Linked DNA regions of Homo sapiens: region 2 is linked to region 1. Evidence: promoter capture Hi-C in 16 types of primary human blood cells and fetal thymus (Javierre and others, 2016). All regions are on one chromosome and are shown on one strand. The core of a region is centred on a gene start or on the middle of the fragment in contact, and the rest is flanking DNA. Distances in the headings are between cores, read along the strand shown. Region 1 holds the start of KLHL2 (kelch like family member 2). Region 2 holds the start of LOC105377517 (a long non-coding RNA gene).

Evidence for each region. The method cuts DNA at HindIII sites, captures the fragments that hold promoters and counts their contacts. A CHiCAGO score of 5 or more calls a contact.
Region 2: a contact is called between a fragment that was not itself captured here and the fragment with the promoter of KLHL2 in region 1, in 4 of 17 cell types (naive CD8 T cells, activated CD4 T cells, monocytes and 1 more). The highest score is 9.7, in naive CD8 T cells.

Annotation. Positions count from the first base shown.
Region 1 is chr4:165,202,776-165,209,742 of GRCh38, forward strand. KLHL2 (kelch like family member 2) reads left to right here and starts at 4,786. Exons shown (of 15, transcript NM_007246.4): 1 at 4,786-5,127. The coding sequence starts at 5,102. RefSeq lists an enhancer at 4,407-4,907 and a silencer at 4,438-5,087. The HindIII fragment of the contact is 2,287 bases long and covers 3,818-6,104 here.
Region 2 is chr4:163,169,169-163,175,573 of GRCh38, forward strand. It overlaps LOC105377517 (a long non-coding RNA gene), which reads left to right and starts at 3,108. Exons shown (of 3, transcript XR_939414.2): 1 at 3,108-3,190. The HindIII fragment of the contact is 3,131 bases long and covers 460-3,590 here.

The DNA.
Region 1 (6,967 bases), core at 3,536-6,035:
AATTTCAGATGAATGACAACAACCTAATAATGCTTCGCATAATTTATCAAGAAATTTTACTTGCTTTTTCTTCCCCCCAGCACTGCTGACTGTGTAGAAAGATGTTCAGTCCTAGATAATTCTATGAGGGATTACATCACCAGACTACATAAATAGATACCATAAAGCTATATATAAGTAAAAATAGATTAAGTAAATTTCCTTTTCTTAAAACACAGAGAAATTGCTTACCTGATATACATTAGTGTGAAACCTATTTTTGGATACTTCCTGTACCAATTCCAACAGATTTTCAATTAAATTTTGCAGCAAACAATTTGCATTCATTTCTCCAGGAAGCTCAGATACGGGGTAATGGGGAGGTATGCTGTGTCGGAAGTAAAGTTGCTATCTTACAGACTACAAAAACAAGGAGGCAAGCATTTGAAGAGTAAATTGGATTCATGGAAACAATGGACTCCATCACTTAAGGATTGTCTATTGATCTGGAGCACAAGACGCACGTCACCCCATTTGACACCATAAAGCTTGTAATACATATCTTAATGTATTGACAAATCCATTTGCTAAACCGCAAAGTATCAAAAGAACATTTTGAAATGCTTCTTAATATATTATGCTGCTAAGTTTCTCCTAAGTCAAAATATTAAAAGCAAAATCCCTAATTTAAAATTAGTAAAGCAACTTAAACTAAGTCTTTAGGATAGAAAATGCGACTTTTTAGAAGGCCTTTATCTTCTTTAGTACCTAATTTTGAATGAGTGAATCTTTTCATACTTGCCATCTTTGCACTGGAAGGAATTACAAATATAGCATCTAATGGTTTTGTATTCTTCAGCGAAGTTAAGTCTTTTCTTTATAGGAGCAATTCTTAGCTCCCGGATACTTGCCATGAGATGTGTTTGTGCCTGCCATGTCATGTCATTAGTTCTATTGCAACATCTGATTTCAGCTCAATCTAAGGGATTTTTGCCACTAGCCACTGTCACGGACTTGTTCATCTGAGTGGTTCCATTTTCTTTACAAGTGATACATTCCATTTACTTACATTAGCTTTAGATTATGGTTACTAACATGCTTAAGGAATTGTTCTATCTTAACAGCATAGGAGGCAGATGGACTTTTGTAAGATCTCATTCCTCTGCCAAGGGTGTGAAGGGCTCAGCTAAAGAATGATGAAAACGTGGGTGGAGGTAATAACCTACGCAAGGGGAGGTCAACACCGTTGCATGTTCAGTCAGACCTTATGTCAAGGGAAATGAAAAAGAGAAGAGCTTGGTGGTCTTAGGTAGCCGCTCCTAATCCTTAGTGTCCTTCACTTGAGAAGATAGTGAAACTGAGAGTCAAAGGAAGAAGTGTTAAAAAGTTTCTTCCCCACTGTAATGTTGGATTTGGGCTCAGCCTGTCAAGCATTTTTGTTTACTTTCTCTTGTGAGCAGAGAGACAGGTTAAGGGTGGAGGCTGTATCTGGCTGAGGACCAGTTTTGGTGTGACATTTAACTCCAAGTAAGGCTGAATTGTATGTGGGTAATGTACTCTTTCCCAGTATACTTGTGAAGCCTACAAATGGGGGTGGTTGTGAAAAAAGAAAGGTTTGGGTTGACATTTAGCATGCTAGATGAGTCGAACCCCTTAAGCAAAGAATTATGATAGACAAAACTAACCCAGAGGAGGATGTGAGAGGGGCTATGGTTTGAAGTTATGTGCCTAGCTGTCAGACGGACACATCGTAATTTTTTAGTATTTATTTGTACACATAACACTATTTTGGGTGGGAAGATACAAAAGCAATAGAAAAAGTCCACCTCCCACCCCCCGCCTCAAAAGAGTTCCTGAAATGGCTGATGAGTCAGCCCTACTCACTGAGTTTGCATGCAGAAGGAAGTCAGGCCAAAGGTTTGGTAAAACCTAAGTCAGTATCTCCTGGCTCTAGGACTTAACCCAGTTCCTAGCAGAGTAAGGTATAACTGATGGCCACAGAAGTGTACAGAAATAATAGCAGCAACTAACATTTATTAAGTGCTTCCATTATACATTTATGTGCTATATACTTTACATCAATTATTTCACTTAATTCTTAAAACAACCTTGTAAAGTAGGAAGTTTTATTATGGCTCTGAACAGAACCATCATACAGAGAAGTTAGCTCATGCTGAAGTGTACTAAGGGTTTTTTGTTTGTTTGTTTGTTTGTTTTCTGGAACCCTTCACTAGGCTGCCAAGACACCTGCCTTGGATCTCCTTCTACTTCCCTGGTTGTTCCTTTACCATCGCCTTTGCTGAGTCCTCCTCCTCTTCTTTTTTAATGTTGGAGTGCCCCAGGGCTTACTTCTTGGTCTACTTCTTTTCTCTAGCTACATAATCTAGTTGATCTCAATACCCATCTGTATACTAACAACTTCCAAATTTATATCTACCCCAGATACATATATCTAATTGTCTACACCTATCTTCACATGGATGTTTAACAGACATCTCAAACTTACCATATCTAAATCAGAGTTTACAAATACAATCTCCACCCCGCCCTCCAATATTTGTTCTTTCTCAATATCCCCAATCCCAGTAAAGGGCAACTCAATTCTCCCCAGAGATCAGAACAAAACCCTTAGGATCATCTTTCTTTTATATGCTAATCTGTCAGCAGTTCCTGAGTACTTTACCTTCTAAACAGATTCAGAACCTGTTCACTTTTCTCAGTCACTCGGACTCTAATCCAAGCCATCCTTACCTTTCATCCCAGCTAGGCTAATCTCTTTGCTTGCTCTCTTGCCTCGCTATGCATGTTGCCCATACAGCAATCAGTCATCTTTTTTTTTAAAAAAAACTTTGTATTATGAACTTTTATTTATTTATGAATTTTGAGACGGAGTCTCGCTCTGTTGCCTGGGCTGGAGTGCAGTGGCCCGATCTCGGCTCACTGCAACCTCCGCCTCCTGGGTTCGAGTGATTCTCCTGCCTCAGCCTCCTCAGTAGCTGGGATTACAGGCACCCACCACCACACCCGGCTATTTTTAGAAGAGACGGGATTTCGCCATGTTGGACAGGCTGGTCTTGAACTCCTGACCTCAGATGATCCGCCCGCCTCGGCCTCCCAAAAAGTGCTGGGATTACAGGCGTGAGCCACCGCGCCCGGCCCATTATTATCTTTTAAAACATACACATAAACACACATAAATGATGACCACCCCTATGCACCCAACACTTAGCCTCAAAAATTAACATTTTGCAAATATTCATCTATTCACTTCTCTGTCCTTTTTTTTTTTTTTTTTGAGACGGAGTTTGTTTCGCTCTTGTTGACCGGGCTGGAGTGCAATGGCACGATCTCGGCTCATCGCAACCTCTGCCTCCCTAGTTCAAGCGATTCTCCTGCCTCAGCCTCCCGAGTAGCTGGAATTACAGGCATGCACCACCATGCCCGGCTAATTTTTTGTATTTTTAGTAGAGACGGGGTTTCTCCATGTTGGTCAGGCGGATCTCGAACTCCCGACCTCAGGTGATCGGCCCGCCTCGGCCTCCCAAAGTGCTGGGATTACAGGCGTGAGCCACGGCGCCCGACCTCTGTCCTTCTTTTTGTGGGATATTTTCAAACAAATCCCAGAAAAGTCATCCTTTTAATGATCAGATCAAGCTACTCACCACTTTCTAATTGCTTCTAATCTCAGTAAAAGCCAAGTCCTTTATCACGGCCTGCAAGGCCTGGGTGATCTGTGATTACTCCTCGCCACACCCATTCCTGCCGCCGTCCTCCTGACCTCACTCTGCTTCATTAGAGGGTCTCCCACCCTCGCGGCCCCAGCAAGCATCATCTGGAAAGCTTGTTAAAGCACACGCTGCTGGGCCCCACCCCCAGAGTTTCTGGTTCAGTAGGGCTAAAGTGGGACTGGAAAATTCGCATCTCTAACAAGTTCGCAGGTGCTACTGCTTCCAGCGGGCATACTTGGAGAACCACCAGCTGCACTGTTCTCCTTCCCGTTCCTCAACAAGGCAGGCAGGATCTTGCTTAGCAGTCTCCACGCTGCTCTTCCCTCTGCCCTAGGCATTCTTTGCATTACTCAAAGCCCCTGTTATTCCATCTCTTTAACTCATGCCTTTTGAGAGGCCTTCTCTGACCACTCTTTCTAAAATCTCTTTCCCTCTCCTCATCCTCATTTATGTTTCTTCATGGTAAGCATCACTTACTGTTTCCGTCACCCCGTCTAGATGGACAGCTCCACAAGCAGAAAGACTTGGTTTTGCTGTCACAGCCGCAGCACTAAAACCTTGCTTAGCAGGTGCTCACTTCACTTGTCCAAGGAATGGCTAGCATACTGAGGAGGGAGAGCCTGCTTCCTGCCTGGGACACTGGACAGGCAAATCACTTCTTCTTGCCTCAGTGCCACCCTTTGTAAGGACACTGGTTGGTTATGCCTACCCTTCCCATCTCCCTGGGTACAGGCACAAATGAAAAGAATAACGTGTACACGCCCGCGAAGCAGAGCAGCAAGTGGATACCGAGCATTATTACGCCGTGCGTTCGGCCGCCCTTTTTCTGCACGGAGAACCCCCTCCGCTCCCATTTTCCAGCGCCCCCGTCCCGGCGATCCAGAGACCCGCTGTGGGCGGCCGCCGCCCGCGTCCCGGCCTGCGGGCCAGCGTCTGGGCACGCCCGCCCCGCACCCGGCTGGCGCCCGCCCGCCCGCCTCCAGAAGCAGAAGCGGCAGCGGCAGCGGCAGCAGCAGCAGCAGGAGGAAGGGGAGGCGCCGAGGGAGGGGTACTCGGCCGCCGCGGGAGGCCGCATCGCAGTCCCGTCACAGCGTCGGCGCCGGCCGGGGCCGAACCCGGAAGTGGCCGAGCCCGCGCGCCCGCCGGTCCCGTCGCCGCCGCCCCGCACTCGGGCGAGCGCGGGAGCCGCGCAGTAGACGGAGCGCGCCCGGCCGAGCGGGCCATGGCCGCGGGGGCCGCCGCCGCAGGTGGTGGCGCGCGGTGAGGAGAGCGCGGCGCCCCCTCCGGGGCGGATGGAACGCGGCTCGGCGGGCGGGCAGTGCCGGCGTCCGCGGCTGGAATGGTGCTGGCTGTGTTGGTCGGTGCCTGCGTTCTGAAGCCCGAGAGGAGCCACAATGGAGACGCCGCCGCTGCCTCCCGCGTGAGTGAGCGGGCGGGCGGGCTGCGCCGCTGCGGATAAGCGCGCCGCTGCGGCGCGTGTCGCCGGCCGCGGGCGCAGCTCTGGGGACAGCCGCCGGGGCCGGCGGGAGGTGGGAGATGCGGGGCGTGACGAGGCGCTGTGCCCGCAGTCCTGAGCGGACGCGGACGGAAACTCAGCCTGGCCAGGCGGTGACTTAAAACGCTGCCCAGGATTTCTGGGGAAGGGTCTTCCCCATCTCGGGCGGATAGAAGATTCGGGGTGGGGCTGTGCATGGGTGACCCTGCAGGTCCTGTGTGTACCTCCCTGAAATGCATGGGCACCTGGTGCCGAGTTTGCCTACCCCTTTATAAGAGATCAGGCTAGGATGCACTGAGTCCGTTGAAAAAAGGAAACTGGAAAGTACCAGTCACCCGCTGTCTAAATGAATTGATCTTAGGTTGCTTGATTCCCCGAATTTCTAACAAAATTAATATCTGAGGAGCTTTTGCATCACTCTAAATGAGCGGCGGCCGTTCAGGGCATGTGACCTCTTTTACCTGGCACTGCAGAACGTTTTATCCAGAAATCAGCATCTTCTGTTTCGTTCGTACCTCGGGCAAATTAGTAGCGTATCGACCTGCCAGGCACAGGTGTCTTTTTTCTTTGGTACCCAAGTACATTCAAGATCACTGGCAACAGAATTACTTTCTAGAAATAATAGCTGAAACATTATGTAGAAGACATTATTGCATTATTCAGAACAAGGGTTTTTTTTTTAAATTTTAGTTTTTAGTTTTAAAAACATCTTGGTAAAAGTGAACTGTAAATACCCAGGAGTTTCGAAAATTTCAATTTTGGTTCCCTCTTCTCTTAGGAAGGAACAAGAGTCCTTTGAATCTGACTTTTCAAATCGCAGACAAACCTCATCCTGAAGAATGGTTTACCTTTTCATGAGAGCTTATTCATGGAGGCTTGTCGTTCTCCGGTCAAATTTGGCAAGCTTCACTCCATGCCGATTGTACCGCACCAGTCTCTTGTGGTTATTTGGCAGAATTCCAGCCAAAATAAGGATACTTGGCTTGGGTTGAATAATTTTTTGATGTTCAGCCCTTTTAGGAGAGCTAATGGGATTCTGGAACGACAGTTTCTAAAAGTGCGTTTCAGAATTTTTAGCTTGAGTGGAACAGGTCGTGGAAATCTAGGGGGTAGATAAGACTCTTGAATTGGCCTTCCTGGGCTGACAGAAGCAGGGGCTTAGTCACCTCTCGATAGCTGTGGCTTTGAGGGCTCTGAGATTTGGTCATGTTCTTCAGCAGGCTGGAGGAAGGCACCTGAACCCCTAGGAAATATGATGGTGGATGGTTCACATCAGCAGCATGAGCACACGGGGGTCTGCCCAGGCTCAGAAGCACTTAAAGCAGGATATGCTAGCTGTATTTAGCCAACATATGGTATATAATATGTAACATGTAGGTATGCTATCTGTAGTAAACCTGCCTTCTACATAAGTTCCTGCAGTTCGTTTTTACTTTTGGAACAGAGGGAGCTAAAGGAAAGAACAAGGGAATACTTAGAATGCAGGTGAAAAGAAGGGTGTGGGAAAGCAGCCTCTGGAGGGAGGGAGGGAATAGAGACACAGATGATTTAAATTGAAATAATAAAAAATAGAATTGATGTATGCATTGAAACATTGATAAACTGACTCTAGGGTAGATCAGCTAATCATAATTTTGATGACCAGCGCCATTTTTGGCATTGAGATTCCATCAATAGTGCTGGAACAATGAGAGGCTGAGATATAATGGAAAACTTGGAATGCCAGCATGGATGAAAGAATTGTTAAAACTCCTTTCAATCAGGG
Region 2 (6,405 bases), core at 775-3,274, 2.0 Mb before region 1:
AGCCTAAGTTATGGGATAATTGAAATACTCATTTGTTCATTCAGTAATCATTTTCTTAACATTACGATATGCTGTGCACTGCATTATAAACTATGCATACAGGAAGATAAACACAGTCCCTACCCTTATGGAGTTAACAGTTCAGTAGAACAGACAAGTTGAAAACAAGCAGAAGGTACTATAGTAGAGAAATGTACCATGTAAATGCAAGAATGTATGAAATGGGAAAACTAAAGACAGAGAAGATACTTGGAAAATTAAGGAAAATGTACTATAAGAGATATATCGTGGCTATAAGAGTAATTATAGCCATAAGGCTCACTCAAGTGTCTTGAGGGGCTGACACTAAATGTATTTATCAATATAATACTAACTGGCCCTGGAGATTTCCACCCCTGGCCCAGTGATTTCCAGGAGACCAGGCCACTTCAGCACAGATGCAACTTTCATGAACCTTAAAGCTTACCCTTGTAAGAATAGCTTCGACTCCATTTATGAGAGAAACATCTGATAACTGACCAAGCTGAATACAGGTTTTAAAAAGGGGGAAGAAACCCCCAACACTGAGAACAGTCTCTGGTTGGAGGCTCTCTTGATCATCCGAGCCCTGACTATCTGGTCTATACCCCCAGCCTCTTCCCACTATCTTTTAAGAGCGATGCCAGAATAAACTACTAAAGCATGAGACAGTCTCTAAGACTCATCTTTGACTTGAATAGAACTGAATGGGAGAAGTCACCTCTAGGAAAGCTGGTTAAACAGGACCACCCAACCACTGCCTCACTGACAATGACAAAAGGCTTTACAATGCGTGTGATACTTGAGCTGGACTTTTAAAGAGAACCATGAATTTGTTAATCTGAGAAAACAGGAGACCTTCACAGGGGATAATAAATAAGATCATTGTAATTTCCTGCTTAATTATTTATAAACTCTAAATATTTGTAAGCACACTTAGAATAAAATTCAGACTCCCTGCTTTGGCTTTCAACAGTCTACCTGATCTGGCCACTACTTACCTCTCCAGTTTCTATCTCCTACCGTCTTCCCCACCCTTGTTTCACATGAGCACTGGTCTTGATCTCCCTTCAACTCACCAAGTTAATTCTTCACGTGTGACATTTTCACTTTTCTGTTCTCTCTTCTCTTCATATTAACGTGGCCTTTTTACTCATTTATGGTTCTACTCAAACACTACACCTAAGAGAGAGCTTTCCAGACCACCCAATCTAAGTGCACCCCTCAATACCAATCACTTCCTAGCTTATAGCTCACTGTTTTTATTTAAATAGTATTTATCTTCACATGAAATTATATTTATTTACTTCTTTATTGTCTGTTTTTTCATAAAATTAAGTCTCAGGTGCCCAGGATCTTTGTCTAATTCACAGCTGTTTCTCTAAGTGCCTGGAAACAGAATAAATCCTATAAGGATTTTTGAATGGATGAATGAAAGAAAGAAAGAATAAAGCTCAATGGGACAATCAGAGTAAGGAATATGACTTAACAGATAATATCTGTTATTCTTTCAATTTAAATTAATCTGATGATATCTAAGAAAGGCTACTGTTTTTAAATAAAAGTCTTTTGTTTGTGTGGTGGAAATGTTTCTGTGTTTCAACATAATGATAGTGGTACCTATGCCTAGCTTTGAAGTAGGTCAGTGTTTCACAAATGGTAATTTTTCTAAGTGCTTGTTTCAGAATGTCCTGAATTTACCTACTTCCACAGCCTTCCTCTCAACCGCATTATTTCTAACAGTTGCTAAACTTAGCCTGAAGTCTTTAACCTAAGACTAAATCCAAAAAAACACCTTGGAAGACTGTGTAGCTTACAGGGTCACTATTAACGTTATGAGAGAATTTACCTTGAATTAAATTACAATTTAAATGGCATATTACATTTCAAAGGGAGCACGTAAAACTTAAATTATTTCTATAAATGTCACTGATTGATCTTAGTCTATTTCAATGTTTAAAAATACATGAATAGACACATTTACATTTCCAGAAACCTACAATGCACTTGCTAGATAAAAATGATGAGATTTTCTAATATATATCACAAAATGATTAAAAGCAGGTTATGTGACTGTTTGGGTGAGTTGCTATTCCTATTTATATATTGTAGCACTAATTTAAGTCAAGGTCATATGTTTGCATTGCCAACTAGTGTAGTAGGGAAAAGAGAGGTATAAGTGCTATTTTAACTCAAAATGGACTGAAACTCTACTGGACTCATTTGAGAGTATGGACAGAAATTATAGATTAGAGACTAGGCATCTCTTGCCACCTAGTCTCCTCTCACACTCAGCTTGTAAGAGAGTGACTTATCAGATAAGAGAGTGACATCTGACTGGTGATCTTGGGAAAAGGAACTGAGCATACTTGGTCCAGTATCTTTGTGTTATAGGAGATAGAAATTATTTAGGTAGAGAGTTAGGGTGAGTCCCAGGCAGAAAACTTTCCTTCTAACAAAAAGCAGCTCAGAAATAGCTCCCTTTTTAACCTCAATCAGTTCAAAGAAATCACTTCCTTTCTAACAAAGAGCAGCCTGGACGCTCAGGCTGTAAAACACATATAAGCAACTAAGGCACAGAGTGGGGAGTTTCCTGGGTAATCACCAAACTTCACATACATACAATGGGTCCCAGTAAAAACAGTGGGCCTTCATAAGCATATCTCTTTCTCTTTCTTTAGGCATACTAAGACAGGGAAGCTGGAAGTAGGCACAGGTGAGATACCTGCAGCTGCAAGAAGGTGCCTGGGAATAGGCACAGACACTCTTCCCTCCCTTTTAGCACACACAAACAGCACAGAGCAGCATAAACTAAGAGTGTACCCACATGATCAAAGAATGGGGTGGGGGCTGATAGAGACCCTGCTCTATGCAGATAGCACACCTGGTCCTAACCATTTGTTCGGGCCCTAGGAAGATAAGTCACACCCTCCTTACTAGCCCATTTATAAAAAACTGACATTTTTTACTACAACTTGGCAACCTGTTTGGGACCCCTCTCCGTGACCGAGAGCTGTTCTTTTCTTTTGCCGAATAAACTCCTGCTCCAGTCTCACTCTCTGTGGTTATGTGTTCATGTTCTTGATTTCCTCAGCTGTGAGACCAAGAACCTTGGTATTTACCCCAGACGATGAGGCCATTTTATACTTGGGGACCCATCCGGGATTTGAAGGTAAATTTATCGGCAGGATGAGTATAGGAGCGGACTCTATACTTTAATTTCCGAGGCTTCTCATCCTCAGTTTTTATTCTCTCAACTATCAAAAACCCAGGCATTTGACAGCTGATTAAGGAGCCACCAGGGCAAGTTGCTGCTCTTGAAGACTCAAAGGAGAGGCTTGCTGGGGAGGACTTAGTCAATCTCCCAGTGTCTTCGGGGTGCTGGGAATGTTGGCCCTGTTCCAAACCAGTTTCCTTTCATGGAGAACCTGGCCATCCTGTGGGGCTGGGAGAGGTCCTGGAGCAACTGAAAATTTCTGTCTGGTCAGGGCTATACCCTGGTGCTATCTAAAGGCTTCTGGACTGTCCCCAGCCCCCAACTGCCCAATCAGGTGTCAGCTACAGGATCTCCAAGCTTTCCTACTGCACATTATACTTTCCTCCTTTCCTTTCCACTGTCACCATGTCTCCCATTTCCTCTCTGTATGCAATGCAGCAGGAGTTTTTACAGCCCTGGAAAAAATTCAATTAGGCAGGCTTAGCAACCACCTTAGAAACCAGGAATGCAGATCAAAGGATTGCTCTTTTTGTGATTTTCTACAGACAGGGAGATTTTCCAGTTCTTTTCTGTTTTGCTTCCCTCTGCTAGAGACCAAACTTTTTGCCCCCTCTGCAAGCGGGAGAACTCTGCTTTCAGCAGTGAGGAGAAAAATGTCCTCCAAAACCACATTTTAATCTCAATACTCTCTCCATTAGCAGAAAGGCTACCATTTGACCTTTATGTTCTCTTAAGACACCTATTCTGCCTACAACTAGAATGGCATCTAAATAGAAAGGGGATTTTGTGTCTCGAAGTTAACTGGAACCACTACCTAAGAATAAATTCTCTAATCTGGTCCATAAGAGCAGATTATAAAGCTCAATCCAGTATACTCCCTCCATTAAGGGGTCTTGCCCAAATGCAATTGTTACATAGTCTCTCTCGAGACCCATCCATCAAGGAGTCATGCAGACCACACAAGTCTAGGAGGTCAAAGGGTAATCACCAAGCAGAGGACTAAGGTCACATGGGCTAGTAGTGTGACTAGCCCCATTGCTTAGTTCTGTGGTACCATGGTTTGAGGGTCATACCTGCAACTATGGGTGGCACTACAGTGCCAGGACCCAGGAACCAAGGAGGGAGAACAGTTGGGGTGATGCTCCCACTGTCTTTCCCCTCCACCCTGGGTCACACTGAAAAGAACAAGGAGACTGAGGGATGCCTCTTGTCTCTTTTCTAAATGGATAACAAGCCATCTTTGGCCTGCACTCCTCTGGAGTACATTCTGAAGCACTGGAACTCCTTTGACCTTGAGACTTTGAAGAAAAAGTGGCTCATTTTCCTTTGCACAAGGGCGTGGCCTTCTTACTATCTTGGAAATGAACAGACCTGGCCAGCTGAAGGAGCCTTGGTTTTAATCTTATCCAACAATTAGACCTTGTTTGTAGATGGGAGGGCAAGTGGCCCAAGCTCCTCTATGTACAGGCTTTCTTTGCCTTGAGAGACAACTCAGACCTTTGCAAGCATTGCACAATCGACTAAGCCCTCTTGATGGCCATATTGGGCAAGTCTGTAGAGAGTAGACTAAGTCAGAAAAGCAAGTTTTTAAGGAGCCATTGGAGGCAACTTCTAAGTGCCCCACCAGTTCTTCCTGTCCCCCTTATCCAGGATGCCCTGTGACTGTGCCATTGGCTCCTCTGGCTCCTCCAGCTCCCCCATCTCCAAAGCTCTCCACTGCCCCATCTTCACTCTGACCCCTACAAAAAATGCCAGATGGAATGGGCACCACTAGGGTGCAAGTTCCCTTCTCATTACAGGACCTTAGGCAAATAAAGGGAGACTTGGGCCAATTTTCTGATGACCCTGATAGGAATATAGAGGCCTTCTAAAATTTAACTCAAGTGTTTGACCTCACGTGGAGGGATGTTATGCTGTTTCTAAGCCAAACCCTCACTGCAGCTGAAAAAGTGGCACTCTGCAGGCAGCAGAGAAGTTCGGAGATGAAAAACATATCTCTTATAGTAGGCCAAAAAGGAAAAGGGGAGATATAGAAGGTGAGGAAATAACAGAACAACCATTCCCAATATGAAGAGAGGCTATACCTCTTGACGATCCTGATTGGACTCCCTGTGACCCCATAGACTAATGGAAAAGGAAACGCCTTTTAATGTGTGTGTTAGAGGGCCTTAGAAGAACTAGGGGCAAACCACTTAATTACTCTAAGTTGTCCACAATAGACCACAAGCCAGATGAGAATCCCTCAGCCCTCATGGAAAGGGTGAGAGAGGCACTAGTAAAACACACCTCTTTGTCCCCTGATTCAATTGAGGGATAGCTCATTCTAAAGGACAAGTTTATTATCCAGGCAGCTCCTGATATTAGAAGGAAACTACAGAAACTGCCATTACTGCTCAGAAGCCCTGGGTGATTCTGGAAATTGAAGGGAGGAGGGCGGACCTCCTCCTGGACACTGGAGCCAGTCTTTCTGTTCTCCTCTCCAATCCAGGCCTCCCCTCTTCCCATAGCACAATCATGGTGGGTGTTATAGGAAAGACTAACACGGTTTTTCTCTCAACCCCTTACTTGTAGTCAGGGGGACTTGTTATTTACACATGCCTTCTTGATCATGCCTGAAAGTCACATTCCTTTATTAGGTAGAGACATTTTAGCCTGCATAGGGACTAGCATCCTCATGGCCCTGGGACAGACTTTTTGTATTCCCCTAATGGAAGCCAATATTAATCCAGAAGTGTAGGCGGCTCAAGAAAGAATAGGTCGAGCTAAAACTGATAGGCCAGTTTAGATCCACCTTAAAAATCCCACTTCTTTTCCTAACCAGAGACTATATCCCCTAAAGCCAGAGGCTAGGAAAGGGCTAGAAACCATAATAATAACCTGAAAACGCAAAGCCTCCTCAAACCCTGTAACAGTCCTTGAAATACCCCGATACTAAGAGTGCAAAAATCCAATGGGGAATGGAGACTAGTTCAGGACCTCTGCCTCATTAATGAAGCCATAGTCCCAATTCATCTGATAATTCCTAATCCCTGCACCTTGGTAATCCAAATACCTGAGGGAACAGAATGGTTTATAGTCCTAGATTTAAAGGATGCCTTTTTCTGCACACTGTTACATCTTGACTCTCAATACCTATTTGCCTTTGAGGATCCCTCTGGCCAAACTTCCCA